3 separate regions of the Homo sapiens genome follow, and regions 1 and 3 are each linked to region 2. Evidence: promoter capture Hi-C in 16 types of primary human blood cells and fetal thymus (Javierre and others, 2016). All regions are on one chromosome and are shown on one strand. Each heading gives the region's core, a stretch centred on a gene start or on the middle of the fragment in contact. The rest is flanking DNA. Distances are from core to core; before and after follow the strand shown.

Evidence for each region. Contacts are between HindIII fragments. The CHiCAGO score rates a contact against its expected background, and 5 or more counts as called.
Region 1: a contact is called between a fragment that was not itself captured here and the fragment with the promoter of PTPRK in region 2, in 1 of 17 cell types (fetal thymus). The highest score is 5.1, in fetal thymus.
Region 3: a contact is called between a fragment that was not itself captured here and the fragment with the promoter of PTPRK in region 2, in 1 of 17 cell types (fetal thymus). The highest score is 5.9, in fetal thymus.

What each region holds. Positions count from the first base shown.
Region 1 is chr6:128,048,330-128,052,585 of GRCh38, forward strand. The region is part of intron 13 of PTPRK (protein tyrosine phosphatase receptor type K); the gene reads right to left. All of the region lies in intron 1 of PTPRK-AS1 (PTPRK antisense RNA 1), which reads left to right. Among named protein-coding and RNA genes, the nearest start is that of PTPRK-AS1, 23 kb to the left of the region's middle. The HindIII fragment of the contact is 5,375 bases long and covers 1-4,256 here.
Region 2 is chr6:128,519,221-128,523,443 of GRCh38, forward strand. It overlaps PTPRK (protein tyrosine phosphatase receptor type K), which reads right to left and starts at 1,379. Exons shown (of 30, transcript NM_002844.4): 1 at 1,039-1,379. The coding sequence starts at 1,138. RefSeq lists enhancers at 553-1,146, 1,147-1,741. The HindIII fragment of the contact is 3,706 bases long and covers 838-4,223 here.
Region 3 is chr6:128,258,057-128,262,363 of GRCh38, forward strand. All of the region lies in intron 3 of PTPRK (protein tyrosine phosphatase receptor type K), which reads right to left. Among named protein-coding and RNA genes, the nearest start is that of PTPRK-AS1, 230 kb to the left of the region's middle. The HindIII fragment of the contact is 1,339 bases long and covers 1,326-2,664 here.

The DNA.
Region 1 (4,256 bases), core at 1,429-3,928, 470 kb before region 2:
TTGAGAAGAGCTGATTTAGAACATTCTAGCTCATCCCCTGGATTTGACCCACCTTCTCTGAGCAGATAAGGAAAAATTCTCCTCAAGGTTCCGCATATGTTCCCTCTGCCTCTAATGCTCCTGCCCTACATGGGTGATGCCCTCATTCCCTTCAGGTTTCTGCTGAAACATTACCTCACCAGCGAGACTTTCTCTGATAACTGTATATAAAGTAGTAATGCCCTAGACACATTCTTCCAGTATTTCCTATCCCCAGACCCTTTATTTTTCTTCAAAGGATTTATCACCATTTGCCATGCCACATACAGTCAGCCCTCTGCATTCATGGGTTCTGCATCCGAAGAGTCAAACAACCACAGACTTACACTGTATTTGGTATTATAAGTAATCTAGAGATTAAGTATACAGAAGGATGTACATAGGTTACAGGCAAACACTATGCCTTTTCATATCAGGGACTTGAGCATAACTGATTTTGGTATCCTCGGGGTCCCGGGACCAGTCCTCCTTGGATACTAAGGAATGACTGTACTTATTTGTTTGTGTTTGGTCTATTTCCTTCAACTAGAATTTAAGTTCCATAAAAGCAAAGGCTTTACTCTATTCACTTTTCTATCCCCAGGGCCTACAACACTGTCTGGTATACTATGGACATAAAATAAATATTTGCTATAGAAATATTGATATCCAAATGAAATCAGAAATCAAAAAATGGCTCATGAATAGACAAGAAACATTATTAAATTAAAAAAAACCTCTTTCACCATAAATACTATGTTCAAATAAATTTACCTATATTAGAAATTTTTCCATTCTATCAGATTTCATAGCTTTTATCTATGGAAATGTCAGGTTTTTTAAGAAATAGATTTGACTAACATACAAACTTCTGCCAAAACTAAATGCTAAGTAACAAGGTTTGTTCTAAAAAATCCAGAAGTTCACAGGATGGGAAAATTAGATACAACCAAAGTAGTTTCAAAATATAAACTACTTACATAAACAGATTACAATACTTGCAATTTCCCATACCATTGGTTTTGTTTCTTAGTTTTAGTCTAAGGATTATTCAGCATCTTGATTTCTTATCAATGCCCGCTTGCTTTACTTTAAGAATAATTTTATGTAAACAAGTACATGGTTCCACAAATAACTATTTACATATTGAGAAAATTTTAAATGACATAATATGCTAAATATTATTAAATAATATAAAATAAAAATTCAATTGAAATGCCTCTTTTGTTAGTTTAATATGGATAAAGCATATTTCTAGTGAAATACTTTTAAAGATTCTTTAAGTAAATTTTAATATAATTTATATATTTGCATGATTCAGCACATTTAAATCTAACCATAAAAATGTTACTTGTTACGATAGTTTCCTTAAGAAACAAATAATCGCAGTATAAATTCTTGATGGCATCATGGCACAAAATTCTTAGCTGCTAATTTACAAATACTTGTGTGCGTGCATGAGGGTATAATGAATTAGGGCACTTTATAAATTACATATACAAAGATAGGCCAGGTGCGGTGGCTCACGCCTGTAATCCCAGCACTTTGGGAGGCCAAAGCGGGTGGAGCACCTGAGGTCGGGAGTTCAAGACCAGCCTGACCAACCCGGAGAAACGCCATCTCTACTAAAAATACAAAATTAGCAGGGCATGGTGGCGCATGCCTGTAATCCCAGCTACTTCAGAGGCCGAGGCAGGAGAATTGCTTGAACCCAGGAGGTGGAGGTTGTGGTGAGCGGAGATCACGCCATTGAACTCCAGCCTGGGCAACAACAGTGAAATTCCGCCTCAAGAAAAAAAAAAATAGATAGAGCAAATCAATATCAAACAATCTCAAACAGTATTTTTTCAGTAGAGAGAACTGAACCTAAAGACAGTGAGCATGCAAGTTGCACAATGATCCTGTCTCATTGTACAAGTGACTCTCTAGTGTTGCTCCATGTTCTTAATGTATCACAGACACCTTCCTTGAGACGTATTCTCCTTTTTGCTTTCAAATATACAGCTAACCAAATTCCGTTTCATATTTTAGAACAATTCTGGTTTTGAATAGGCTATTTTATAAATGGAAAGCCTTTCTTGATTTCTAGTACAATTGAGATAAACTCTTCCACTCCATTCTTGAAGCATATCTTCTCAGTGACTTTATTTGTCTCAACTGCAATGAACATAACTCCCAGGATATCTCTTCTCTTGCATCATAATATGTAACCACATGACTATTTATTTTAAACATTATGATGCTGATTATTTAATTCATATGTTTAATAGTCAAGCCAAGGTCTTTATTCTCTTTATGTGCTGGCTGCCACCAGAGATACAAGGCAGGAAACAAACTATTACACTAAGCATTTTTAATTTTTAGTTTAAGTTTTTATAGAAATAGGTCTTGTTATATTGCCCAGGCTGATCTTGAACTCCTGGGCTCAAGCAATCCTCCTTCCTCTGCCTCCCAAAGTGTTGGGATTACAGGCACGAGTCATGGCATACAGCCGATACTAGGAATTTTTTAGAATGATTTTTACACGCTGAAAAATTTTCAAAATGATGTTATTTCAGTATGTATGCTAATTGTTCTTAGATTTAAATTCTTTCACATTGTTCTTCAAGAATTTTCAAACTTTTAAAAATTTCCTGGTCTCTTGTTCCACATCTGATACTTGTACTCTCTGCACAGGACTTCATTTAATTTGTTTAAATGGATAATCTAATACACTTCTCAATTTTTTCTGTTGGTGTCACTTGTCCATTTGCCCTCACAGGTTCAATTATTCCCTATTGTTTTAAAAGATATGTTTCTGCATTTGTTCAATTATATCACTGCCTACTTCCTCTAGAAATGTATTCTTTCTTATATATATTCAATATTTTTTGCTCCATTGGTAGGTTTCCTCTGATAAATAAAATATGCTCCAGTCTCTACCATGCTTAATAATTCTTTCCTAAATTAAAGTCCTAGCAATCTCCTTTTTATCAGTAATGTATTTCTGGAAAAGAAAGTCTCCCCAACCACTTTATTTTCTCAGCTCCAGTTCATGCTAAAGTCTTGCTTCTATTCGCTATCTTTTTGCCCAGTCACTCTAATTGAATGCTCCCTTTTCTAAACTCAACCATAGACATCCCAGTTTGCAAACCCAGTTGCCTCTTCTCATCCTATTTTATTTGAGCTTTCCATGCTGCTTAAAATATTAACTATCGTTTATAAGCCCCTTCTTGGTATATCTTCCTTTCGTCAGTGTTGTGACAAGGCACTCCACTGGTTATGCATCTTTCGATCCGGTTGCTTCTATTCTAGCTTCTCTCCTACCTCACTTTCTTCCTCCTACTGTCTCAAGATGGGTATCCTGCAAGGAGCTCTCCTCATCTTTCTATATTATCTTGTTCATATGTTTTTACCACTCCCAAGTTCTAAGTTCTCTAGTTCCAGACATTCTCCACACTTTTATTTCTAGTTTTTCCAATTACATTTATGTTAGCTATTTTTTGGTACCCTACACTTGGCTTTTCCAAAATGGCATAAATCATTTTTTTTTTAATCTCAGCCTTTGTTTCTAGTGTTTTCTGTCTCTGTGACTGACATCACATCTTCCTAGTGTGGTTGGCTCAGGACAGAAGTTCAGCATCATATTTAAGTCTTCAGCTTCCTTGTTCACAGCAGATACACACCAAGACATGTTAACTTGTACTCCACCATCATATCCTCCATATCCTTATTTCTTATTCTTTAATGTAATCACTCATCTGCTCCCCATATTTTAGTATAACAGCTTTAAAATTCACTTATATGTTGGAAAAACACACAAAGTTACAGAAAATTTGCAAATACACTACTCCCTTGTTTTCACTTTACTAAGCATGAAGAGTAAGTGACTGCCCTGATGCCTCCATTATCCAGAATACTTTAGTATTTCCCATAAACAAGGACATTTTCCTATAGATCACAAAATGACGTTCAAACTTAAGAAAATTAACTACTGTCTAAACTTCAGATCCCATTCAAAATTCCCAATTGTCCTAATGATGTTCTTTGTATCTAAATGATCTAATTAGTTATATTTAGTTGCTATATCTCTTTGGTCCCCTTCAGCCTGCGCAGTCCAGCCTTCCCTTCACTTTCAAGGCCTTACGTTTTTGAAAATTATAGCTCAGTTATGTTGTAGAATATCCTCAATTTGGATTTGTCTGATATTTTAAATGTTTAGATTAAGGATATACATCTTTGGTTGGAATATCACAAAA
Region 2 (4,223 bases), core at 129-2,628:
CTGGTGAAACTTCAGAGCCCCCAGAGGAGAGAACGAAAGAAGCAACCAACCTACACGAAGGATAACAAAACTGGAGGGGAACAGAGGGCGGGACCGGGAGAGCCAGGGTTCACGGACTTCTCTGAGCGGCTTGACCGAGAACCCCCAGGGCTACAGCGAGACGCTCCACTTGTCTCCTTTTGGGTTCTCCGGCAGAAGGCAGACATTTACAGTCCGCTTCCAGCCCCAGGCCGGATCCGGGGAGCGCGGGGCCAGAGCCCCAGGCCGGATCCGGGGAGCGCGGGGCCAGCCTGGCGGTGGTTTTGCCCGAGGAGCGGGCTCCCACGCGCGAGTCAGGCTTCCTCCACCAGGCGCCCAGACCTCGATGCCCATGAACGCTCAGAGTGGGTCCTTAGAACCGCATTTCAACACATCTTACAGGGCTCCGCCAACACACACACAGAACATGCTCCAAGCAGTGCCCGAGCGCACAGGGCAAGCCCGGGAGCAACCCAGAGCTGGGGGAGGAGAAAAGGGGACTCCGGGAGGGACGGGGAAGTAGTTAGACAATAGTCAGGGGAGGTTATTCCCGGGACAAAAAGCACCTGGCAAAGCGCGCCGAGGTCAGTCCCTTCGAATCTCCACATTTCTGACAATGGCTTCCCAGGGAATTTGTTTAAACACCCAAGTGGCAGACAGCAACAAACCCGCACCACAAGCAACAGAGTGCCGTCACGGGAGTCGTAACTACTTTTTCTTTCTCTCTTCCCCACTAGCCCGGCGCAGGCCACGCGAGACGCCGAAGCCAGCAGGTCCCCACACTCTCCGGCTAGACCGTGCCAGCCTGAGCCCCGAGCAAGCTTCGGAGAGGAACAATGGGTGCCCCGCGTCCCACCTGGCACGAACTCTGGGGACAGCCCTCCCTCTACCCTGTGTTCCCCACCCCCGGACAGAGAGAGCTCCCCACGATCCTTGTCCCCAGCCCTAGCGGGGACCTGGCTCACCCCTCGTGAGCCCAGGACTCCAGGCGTTCGTCGGGGACGCCCCCCGGCCACTCACCTGCGGAGAACTGGCCTTGGGCCGATCCCAGGAGAGGCCAAGGAGAGAGGAGCAAGAGCGCCACAAAAGCAGGCAGCGCCGCCGCCGCAGTCGTATCCATGCCGAGTTTGGGAGAAGTTTCAAGCAGCTTTGCAAAGAGCTGCCGGGGGGATCGCCGCGAAATCCACGACGGAGGAGCGGGCCGGGCCTCGCGGGGTGAGGACGGTGAGAGGACAGCCGCCCGCCCGCCCTTTTTCCTTCTTCGCGGTCGCCAAACTACCTCAGGGGCGAAAGCGTCGCCAGCGTCGCCGGCCGGCCGCGGCGGCAGCTCTCCATGCTCGGCGGAGGCTGCTCCTGTTAGTCAAGAGTTACTTTGCTCGGGGAGGGACGGGGGCGGAGCCGGGGGTGACGTCGCCCCGCGGGCTCCGGGCGCTTCTGAGGAATGCGGGCTCGGGCGCGGCGCCGCCACCGCCTCCTGCCGGAGAGACGCGCGCCAGCCCCGGCCGCGCGCCCCGCGCCGCCTTTGTTCGCAGCCTGGGCCCCGCCGCCAGCCGCTGCTCGGAGGGAGCGAGCGAGAAAGGGGAGCCGGCGCAGCTCGCTGCCCTGTTCCAGAACTCAGAATTTGAGAGGCGAGAGTTCGGTAAGCCGTGCGACCAGACGACCGAGGACGCGCGCAGAGAAACCCCCGCCGTCCGAGGAGAGGCGTCCTGGGGTTCCGTCCCAAGGTGGAGGTCCCCCCGAGCGGTTGCTGATTGAAAGGGGAGTGTGGAAGCGCCCTGAGGAAACACCCGCCTGCCTTGAAAACTCCCCGTTCCTTATTCTTGTAATAAGGAATAAGACACCCCACCCCCATCGAAAACTTGTCCCTTATTCATAGAATAAATAAAACTTGAACCAGAATAAACGATCAGTAACTTTCCAGCGTGAACAGCTGGCGTGTCTCCTTTCTGGTTTATTTGTCATTGGCCAAGTATTTGGATTTACTCTGCTTCACTGACTTTGCTTGTTGCTCTGAAACCCTCCGGCCCCTTTCCAGTTCTCACCTAAGAACTGCATCAGGGCTTATTATCCCTTCCTTGCACCTAGGTCTGGTGTGTGTGTGGTTTTGTTTTTTTTAATATCTAGTAGGTAGTTAAGACATAAGTATTTAACAAAAGGACTTTTACACTGACCATGAAAACAGCTTCTTCGGAATGATTCATCTGGCAGAAAATAATGCTATATTATGACAGTAAAATATTTCACAGTTAACTACTTCAGCAGCTTGAAGTGGTTTCGCCATATGCCACCCTGCCTTACTTCTGTGGTAAGACTGTATGGTGCATACTTTATTCATTTTTGTAAAATGTCACAAAAAATAGGTATGGTCACAATTGAATAACATAATAACTTTGATTCAGAATTTTTATGTGTTATGTACAATTGCTAAAACAATAGTCTGTTGATTGACATCTCTCAGTTTCTCAGACATCTTAGCCTTTGTAAATCAAGACAATGTGAAATTCATTTTAATATAACATTCACATAATTTACCAAGCCACATATTCTTTTAATCAAATATATGCTATTAATGACCAGACTTATGACAGAGCCTGTGGAAACAAAAATGTAATAAATATACACACAAATATATACATATATAAATACATATTATACACACATACATATCAGGCAGAAAAGACTTTTAAAAATTCTATGAGAATAGTAGCCTGCTCATTAGCACACTGACTAGCTCAACCCTTGTCAATTCAGTTCAGCATAGTTAAGTTCATCCTTCCTTAGGGTGCAATGTAGATTTTTTTTTTTTAACTCATTAACCTATACCTTTCAACACACCATCACCATTCCATTTCTTTAATTAGAGAACATTCCTAGATCCCAGGTAACAAAAAACTGAGGGACATATTTTTCTTTTTGAGGACAGCAGAACTTCCTAAAATTTAGCAGCAATTTTTCCCAGTAAAAACAAACAAAACCCTACTGTCTGTATACTAATTCATCTGTTCTACTCTTGTAAGAAATGTAAAAGAAGTTCATGACGTGGTAATTTGTTTGTTTAAACACACAAACAAAAAACTTCTTTAAATATTTTCACACAGTGCCAGGACAAAGTGCACACAATTCTTACCTTGCCCATTTTGGGGGACAGCTGATAGAAGATTCATTTCATGAAACTTTATTAATTTCTCTATCATGGAAGTAATAATAATAGCAGGTAATGTTTAGAAAGTTCTTCAAATGTTCTAGGCACTGTCTTAGAGTATACAATGTCACACTGAGACATCAAGATTTTCAGTGTTTCATTGAGTTCAGTCAACAATTCCGTGAAGACTTTGGTACAATTATTCCCATTTGACAAATAAGAAAACAAGGTTATAGATTAAGTAACTTACCCAAAGACACATACTTAAGTGAGAAGTGGGGGAGGCGATGCAAAGAGAAGAAAGGAAATTCTCAAAAGAAATCAGCAAACCAACACAGATGGTTTCTCACTAAAAATCAAAAGCATGCAATAAAACTTTTAGGTAAGTACATTATTCCTTTTGTGCATAACTAATGCGACCAGTATGGATTGAAATCACTTGAGTAGAAATCTGGTGGGTCTTCTACATAGCTAAGTGCGTGGCAAATATTAGGAATTAGTAGATTTTTGTTTGTTTGAAAGAATAAATGAATACATGAATCAATAGAAGTATAAATTTGGTTAAACTTTTAGGAAAAGAAATCATCAGCCTGCATTAAAAATCACTAAAATCTTCCTATTCTTTAGTCTAGAAGCTATTGCAAGTAAATAATCCAAAATATGAAAAATGTTATTTAATATGTTTATCATTTCAAAAGAGAAAGAATATAAATATTCTACAATAGGCAGATTCATAAGCATTATATGGTAGAATATCTCATAGCCACTAGAAATGAAAGTTATGAAAAAAGTAAATTGCAAGATGGAAAAATGCTTATGATCAAATGTTGGGTAAAATCATCAGAAGACAATACAGAGTTTCAGTTTAGAAAGATAAAACTGTTCTGGAGAGGGATGGTGGTAATAGTTGCCTAACAACATGAATGGACTCAATGCCACCAAATTACATACTCAATAATTGTTAAAATGATAAAGTTTATGCTATGTATATTTTACAACAATAAACAAAAACAGAAGACAAAGGTCTTTGTACTATAACCAAGAAAAAAAGAAGGCTGAAAAA
Region 3 (4,307 bases), core at 745-3,244, 260 kb before region 2:
CTGAGAATTATTTAAATGTGATAATTTGAGGGGATACACACAGGGAGGAAAGTGTCTGAGAATAAAATCATTTTCTTTATACATAAACTAAATTTTATTCTCTTTAAGAAATAAGGCCTTTAAGAAAATCACCATTCTGCTTGTCCCTATATTCTTCTATAAGAAAATAGTGATTATGTGAAATTCCTTAAAATTTCTATAATAAAGACCAAAATATAATGTTAAATCAAGCAAGTGTTACAACATCCATTTGACTATGTTAAAAAGATCAAAATATGTTACATAAAACTGATATCACAGAGTAATCATGCATGGTTTAACTGGCTAATATCTCTCCCTTACCTCTTCCTGAAGTGCTCATGCTAACACTAGAGATAACTGACCAGAAAAATCCAAGGCACTGGGAAAATGAAATAAAGGAAACAAATACTGAATAAAAATGTTAGTTTCGCTATGTACTTTTTTCATTGTATATGTACTTTTTCATTAGATAATTATTTCTCGAGCACCTGATATGTACAAGAGATGAAAAACATAAAACAAAGTTGATGTCTTCATGGAAAACAGGCTAGTATGGAAGAAAGACACTAAACAAGCATATGGAACAGTGACCAAAGTGCTAAGGCAAGGAGGCAAAGGAGTTAACGAACAGAAGGGTAGAGACGGGGTAATTAGGTCAGCCTCTGAGAAGGCAAAATATGAGTAGAGACCAGAATGGGAAGATGGAGGTAATGCCATTCCAGGCGGAGGGAATGACAGGCACAAAGACTTTGAGATACGAATGATCTTGGAGCATTCCACGATCAGAAAGCTGAATGAGGGAGGCAGAGAGCAGAAGACAATTTAACGTGGAGCTAGCCAATAACTGGATTTGGATTTTATTGACTCCATTGAGAAGCCAGTGGAGGATATGGGGTAGAATTCCTAAGTTCCTGATATCTGACATGTGTTTTTAAAAGATCAGTCTGCTGTGAGGAGAAGAGCCTCAGAGAGGTAATAAGGGAAGCTGGGAGAAGTGTGGGGAGGTCCATGTTTGAGGAGGGAGACAGGGAAAGCATGGATTTTTAGCAGTGCTTCCCAAATGCTTTTATATTATGAAAAACAAACAGGAGATGACAACAACTGTGTGGCACCTTGAAGTAAAAAGACAACTGTCATAGTTCCAGGCTCCACCCTATAGGCTAGGTTATCACACTACAAATTTTTCAACACCTGCAATACCACTGTCAGGGAACACCAGTATGCCACAGCTCAAAACCACTAAACTAAGAGTGAGAAATTGTCAGATTGGGACAGGTTGCTTAAAAATAGAATATGAAGAGGAAAGCTTTTCACAATAACCTAATTAAGGAAACCAAAACATTATGTATTATGATTCCACTGAATATCAAGTTTAATATGCACATGCACACACACATATATAATGTACATATATGCACATACATACATGCATATGTATGTGCCACCTGTCAAAATATTAGGAGTCATCTCTAGAAAGCAGAAGGTGAGATTATGGATTACTTTCATTTTCTGTGTATTTCTTCAATGATTTCGTTACTTACAGTAAGTTTGCACTGGTTAAGTAACACGAATAGAGAGAGGCAAAAAATTTCAAGTATGTTTTAGAAGTATAATTCAGTGTGTGTTCAATTTTCATTCTTTTATGTGAAAATCATAAATCCCTAGGAAAGGGCCATAAAAATTCTAAGTATACTACCTTTCTAGCAGTTGAAGATATAACTTAAAACATTCTTTCCTTTTCATTTAAAGAAAGTTAAAAGGAAACTAAAAAAATGTGACTTCCTTCTGTAACATAAGAACCCTTCCACACAACTGCTTTCATTTTCCAGTCCATAACATATGTAAAGCAAACGTACAACATGGACGTAATTTCATAGGAAAGGCCTTAAACTATATAGACCCAATTAACAGTAGTCATCTTGGGGGAGAAATTGAATGAAATGGGTGAAATGAGTTTCACTTTTCATTTTACTGATGTCTGTATTTGAATATTTATAAGTATTTATCAAAATATAATTGCATAATTTAGAAAATCTTTTTTTAGACCTATAGAGTATATTATTCTCTGGATTACACTTCTGATGACATGGCTTCCTAAAATATATTTTTTTTTATTCTATTTTTTAAAAGATTGGATTTCATTCTAAATGTAACAGAACAGGCTTATAGCAGAGGAGTGACATAATCTGAATTATGATCTGAAGAAGTTTGTTTTGATGACTGTGAGAAGTGGTTTGTGGGAGACCAAGATCCAGAAGCAGAGACAATGTTAAGGAGACCACTGCAGTTGTTGAAGGAAAAGATGACGGCATTAACCCTGAGGATGCCCAAAAATAAAATAGAGAAGATGGCCTTTATCATTGCTACCCACAATATCTAGCATAGCAAATGGCATGTAGTAAGCCTCCTATAAAGAGGTATTCGGGTAAGAAAGTTAGGAAGAGAGGCCAGCCATCCAGAAGGCTGGGATGGAGATTACCGCTTTTCTAATTGGAGCTGGAGAAGCGAAACATGTTTCTTGAAGATGCTTGTATAATGTCCATTTATGAAAGCAGTTTCCTAATCTCCTAATAAATAAAAGACTCATATAACCACTACCACAACAAATTTGGAAGCAGGGACAACAAAAATTATTTCAAAACAAGCTTAGTTCTCCGTTCAACTCCAGTATTTAAGCATGTGGTCCCTGAACTTTCATGTACATTCACTGAACTTTCATGTACATTAGAAGATGCTGCAAAAATATAGGAAGTTGTAGTAAGTTACTTTAAAGACACCTAAAAAATACTGCTTTAGCAAGCTTAACATTTAATGATATAGTTGTCCTCTAAGATCTGAAAATAAAAATTTAAATTGCAAAACAAACATGCATTTTCTTAGTTTTTCCATCTCTTTTTATGTATAGGCTGAGGTCTCTACTTAGTATTTCATCCTGAGCTTATATAGCAATAGTTTCTGTTTTACCCCTCTTGATCTGTCAATCTATCAAGCCTCTAAACTTCATTTTCTATTTTACCCATCCAAATTTAAATTCCATGTTGTCTTTATTTATTTTATATTCCAAGCTCAGTGCTCCAAATAAAACTTTCAAAAAAGAAAAACCCATCAATTTTTGTTCAAACATATTAGATGATTCATTGTTGTATTTCTTTTGGTTCATATGATTAAAGATGTAAAAGCAGAAATCAATACTTATACAGATTTTTCAATAGTTATATGGATTTAAAATTTGAGAATAATGTTCTAGAGGGCAAAAGATGTTAAAAACACTATAACAAAAAACAGCAAATTTTCCAAACTAGCACTTAAGATATTTTATTACATAATATGGTGAAACACTACATTGTACATTGACAGGTATATTTTATTATAATTTCTTTATGAAATCCATTGTCTCCAAACTTGAATTAGCAAAATGTTTGTAACACAGTAAAAACTAGCCAGATGTCTATAGTTATTACAGGGGAAGTACTGTGTGCAGAGCTTCAGTCTAGAGCAAAACTGTCCAGCAAAATTGTCTGCCACAAGAAAAATGTTCTGTATCTGTCTACATAGTAGCCACTAACCAGCCACCTGCAGGCATCAAGCACTTAAAATGTGGATAGTGCAAATGAATAAATACATTTTTAATTTTAATTTTAATAATTGCATCTGGCTAGTGACTAGCTCATTGAACAGCAGAACTTTTAAATATGAATTTTGACAAATTTGGGCAATAGCTTTTGGAGCTATATTAACAGTTAAAAGCAAAAAGAAGCAACTGGTGGGTCAAGCAAACTTTCATATAAGACACAAATTCCACAAGAATCAAGAATATAGGCTCTACTCTTAAGCACAGCATCAAGTTGGGCCCTTACATGGTGGGCTAATTATTTCATGGCACCAACAAGCAAGAATGACATGATTATGCCTAGAATCCAATACCAGGAGTTACTCAGCCTGAGAAAACTCTCCACATGTGCAAATGACAAAACTGATCAAGTGTGCTTTATGTGGATCAGGCAATGCTGTATGGCTTGGTATTACAGTCAAATATTACTTTCCAGGTTTGGATTCATCCCAATTTTATGGATGACAAATTAAGCAGCATAGTGAAAGTTAAACTGCAACTCAAAACTGTTGATACACCAATTTTATGTAGTTTCCAACCTGTTTTCTCCCTAGGTTTAAAATGTGAGACAGCCTCAATATTAAATTATTGAAACCAAATAAGTTCATAGAAGCAAAAATATATTATGCACTATACTCTCTTAAAAAAGGATTTTTTATCTCAAGAGAATCACACT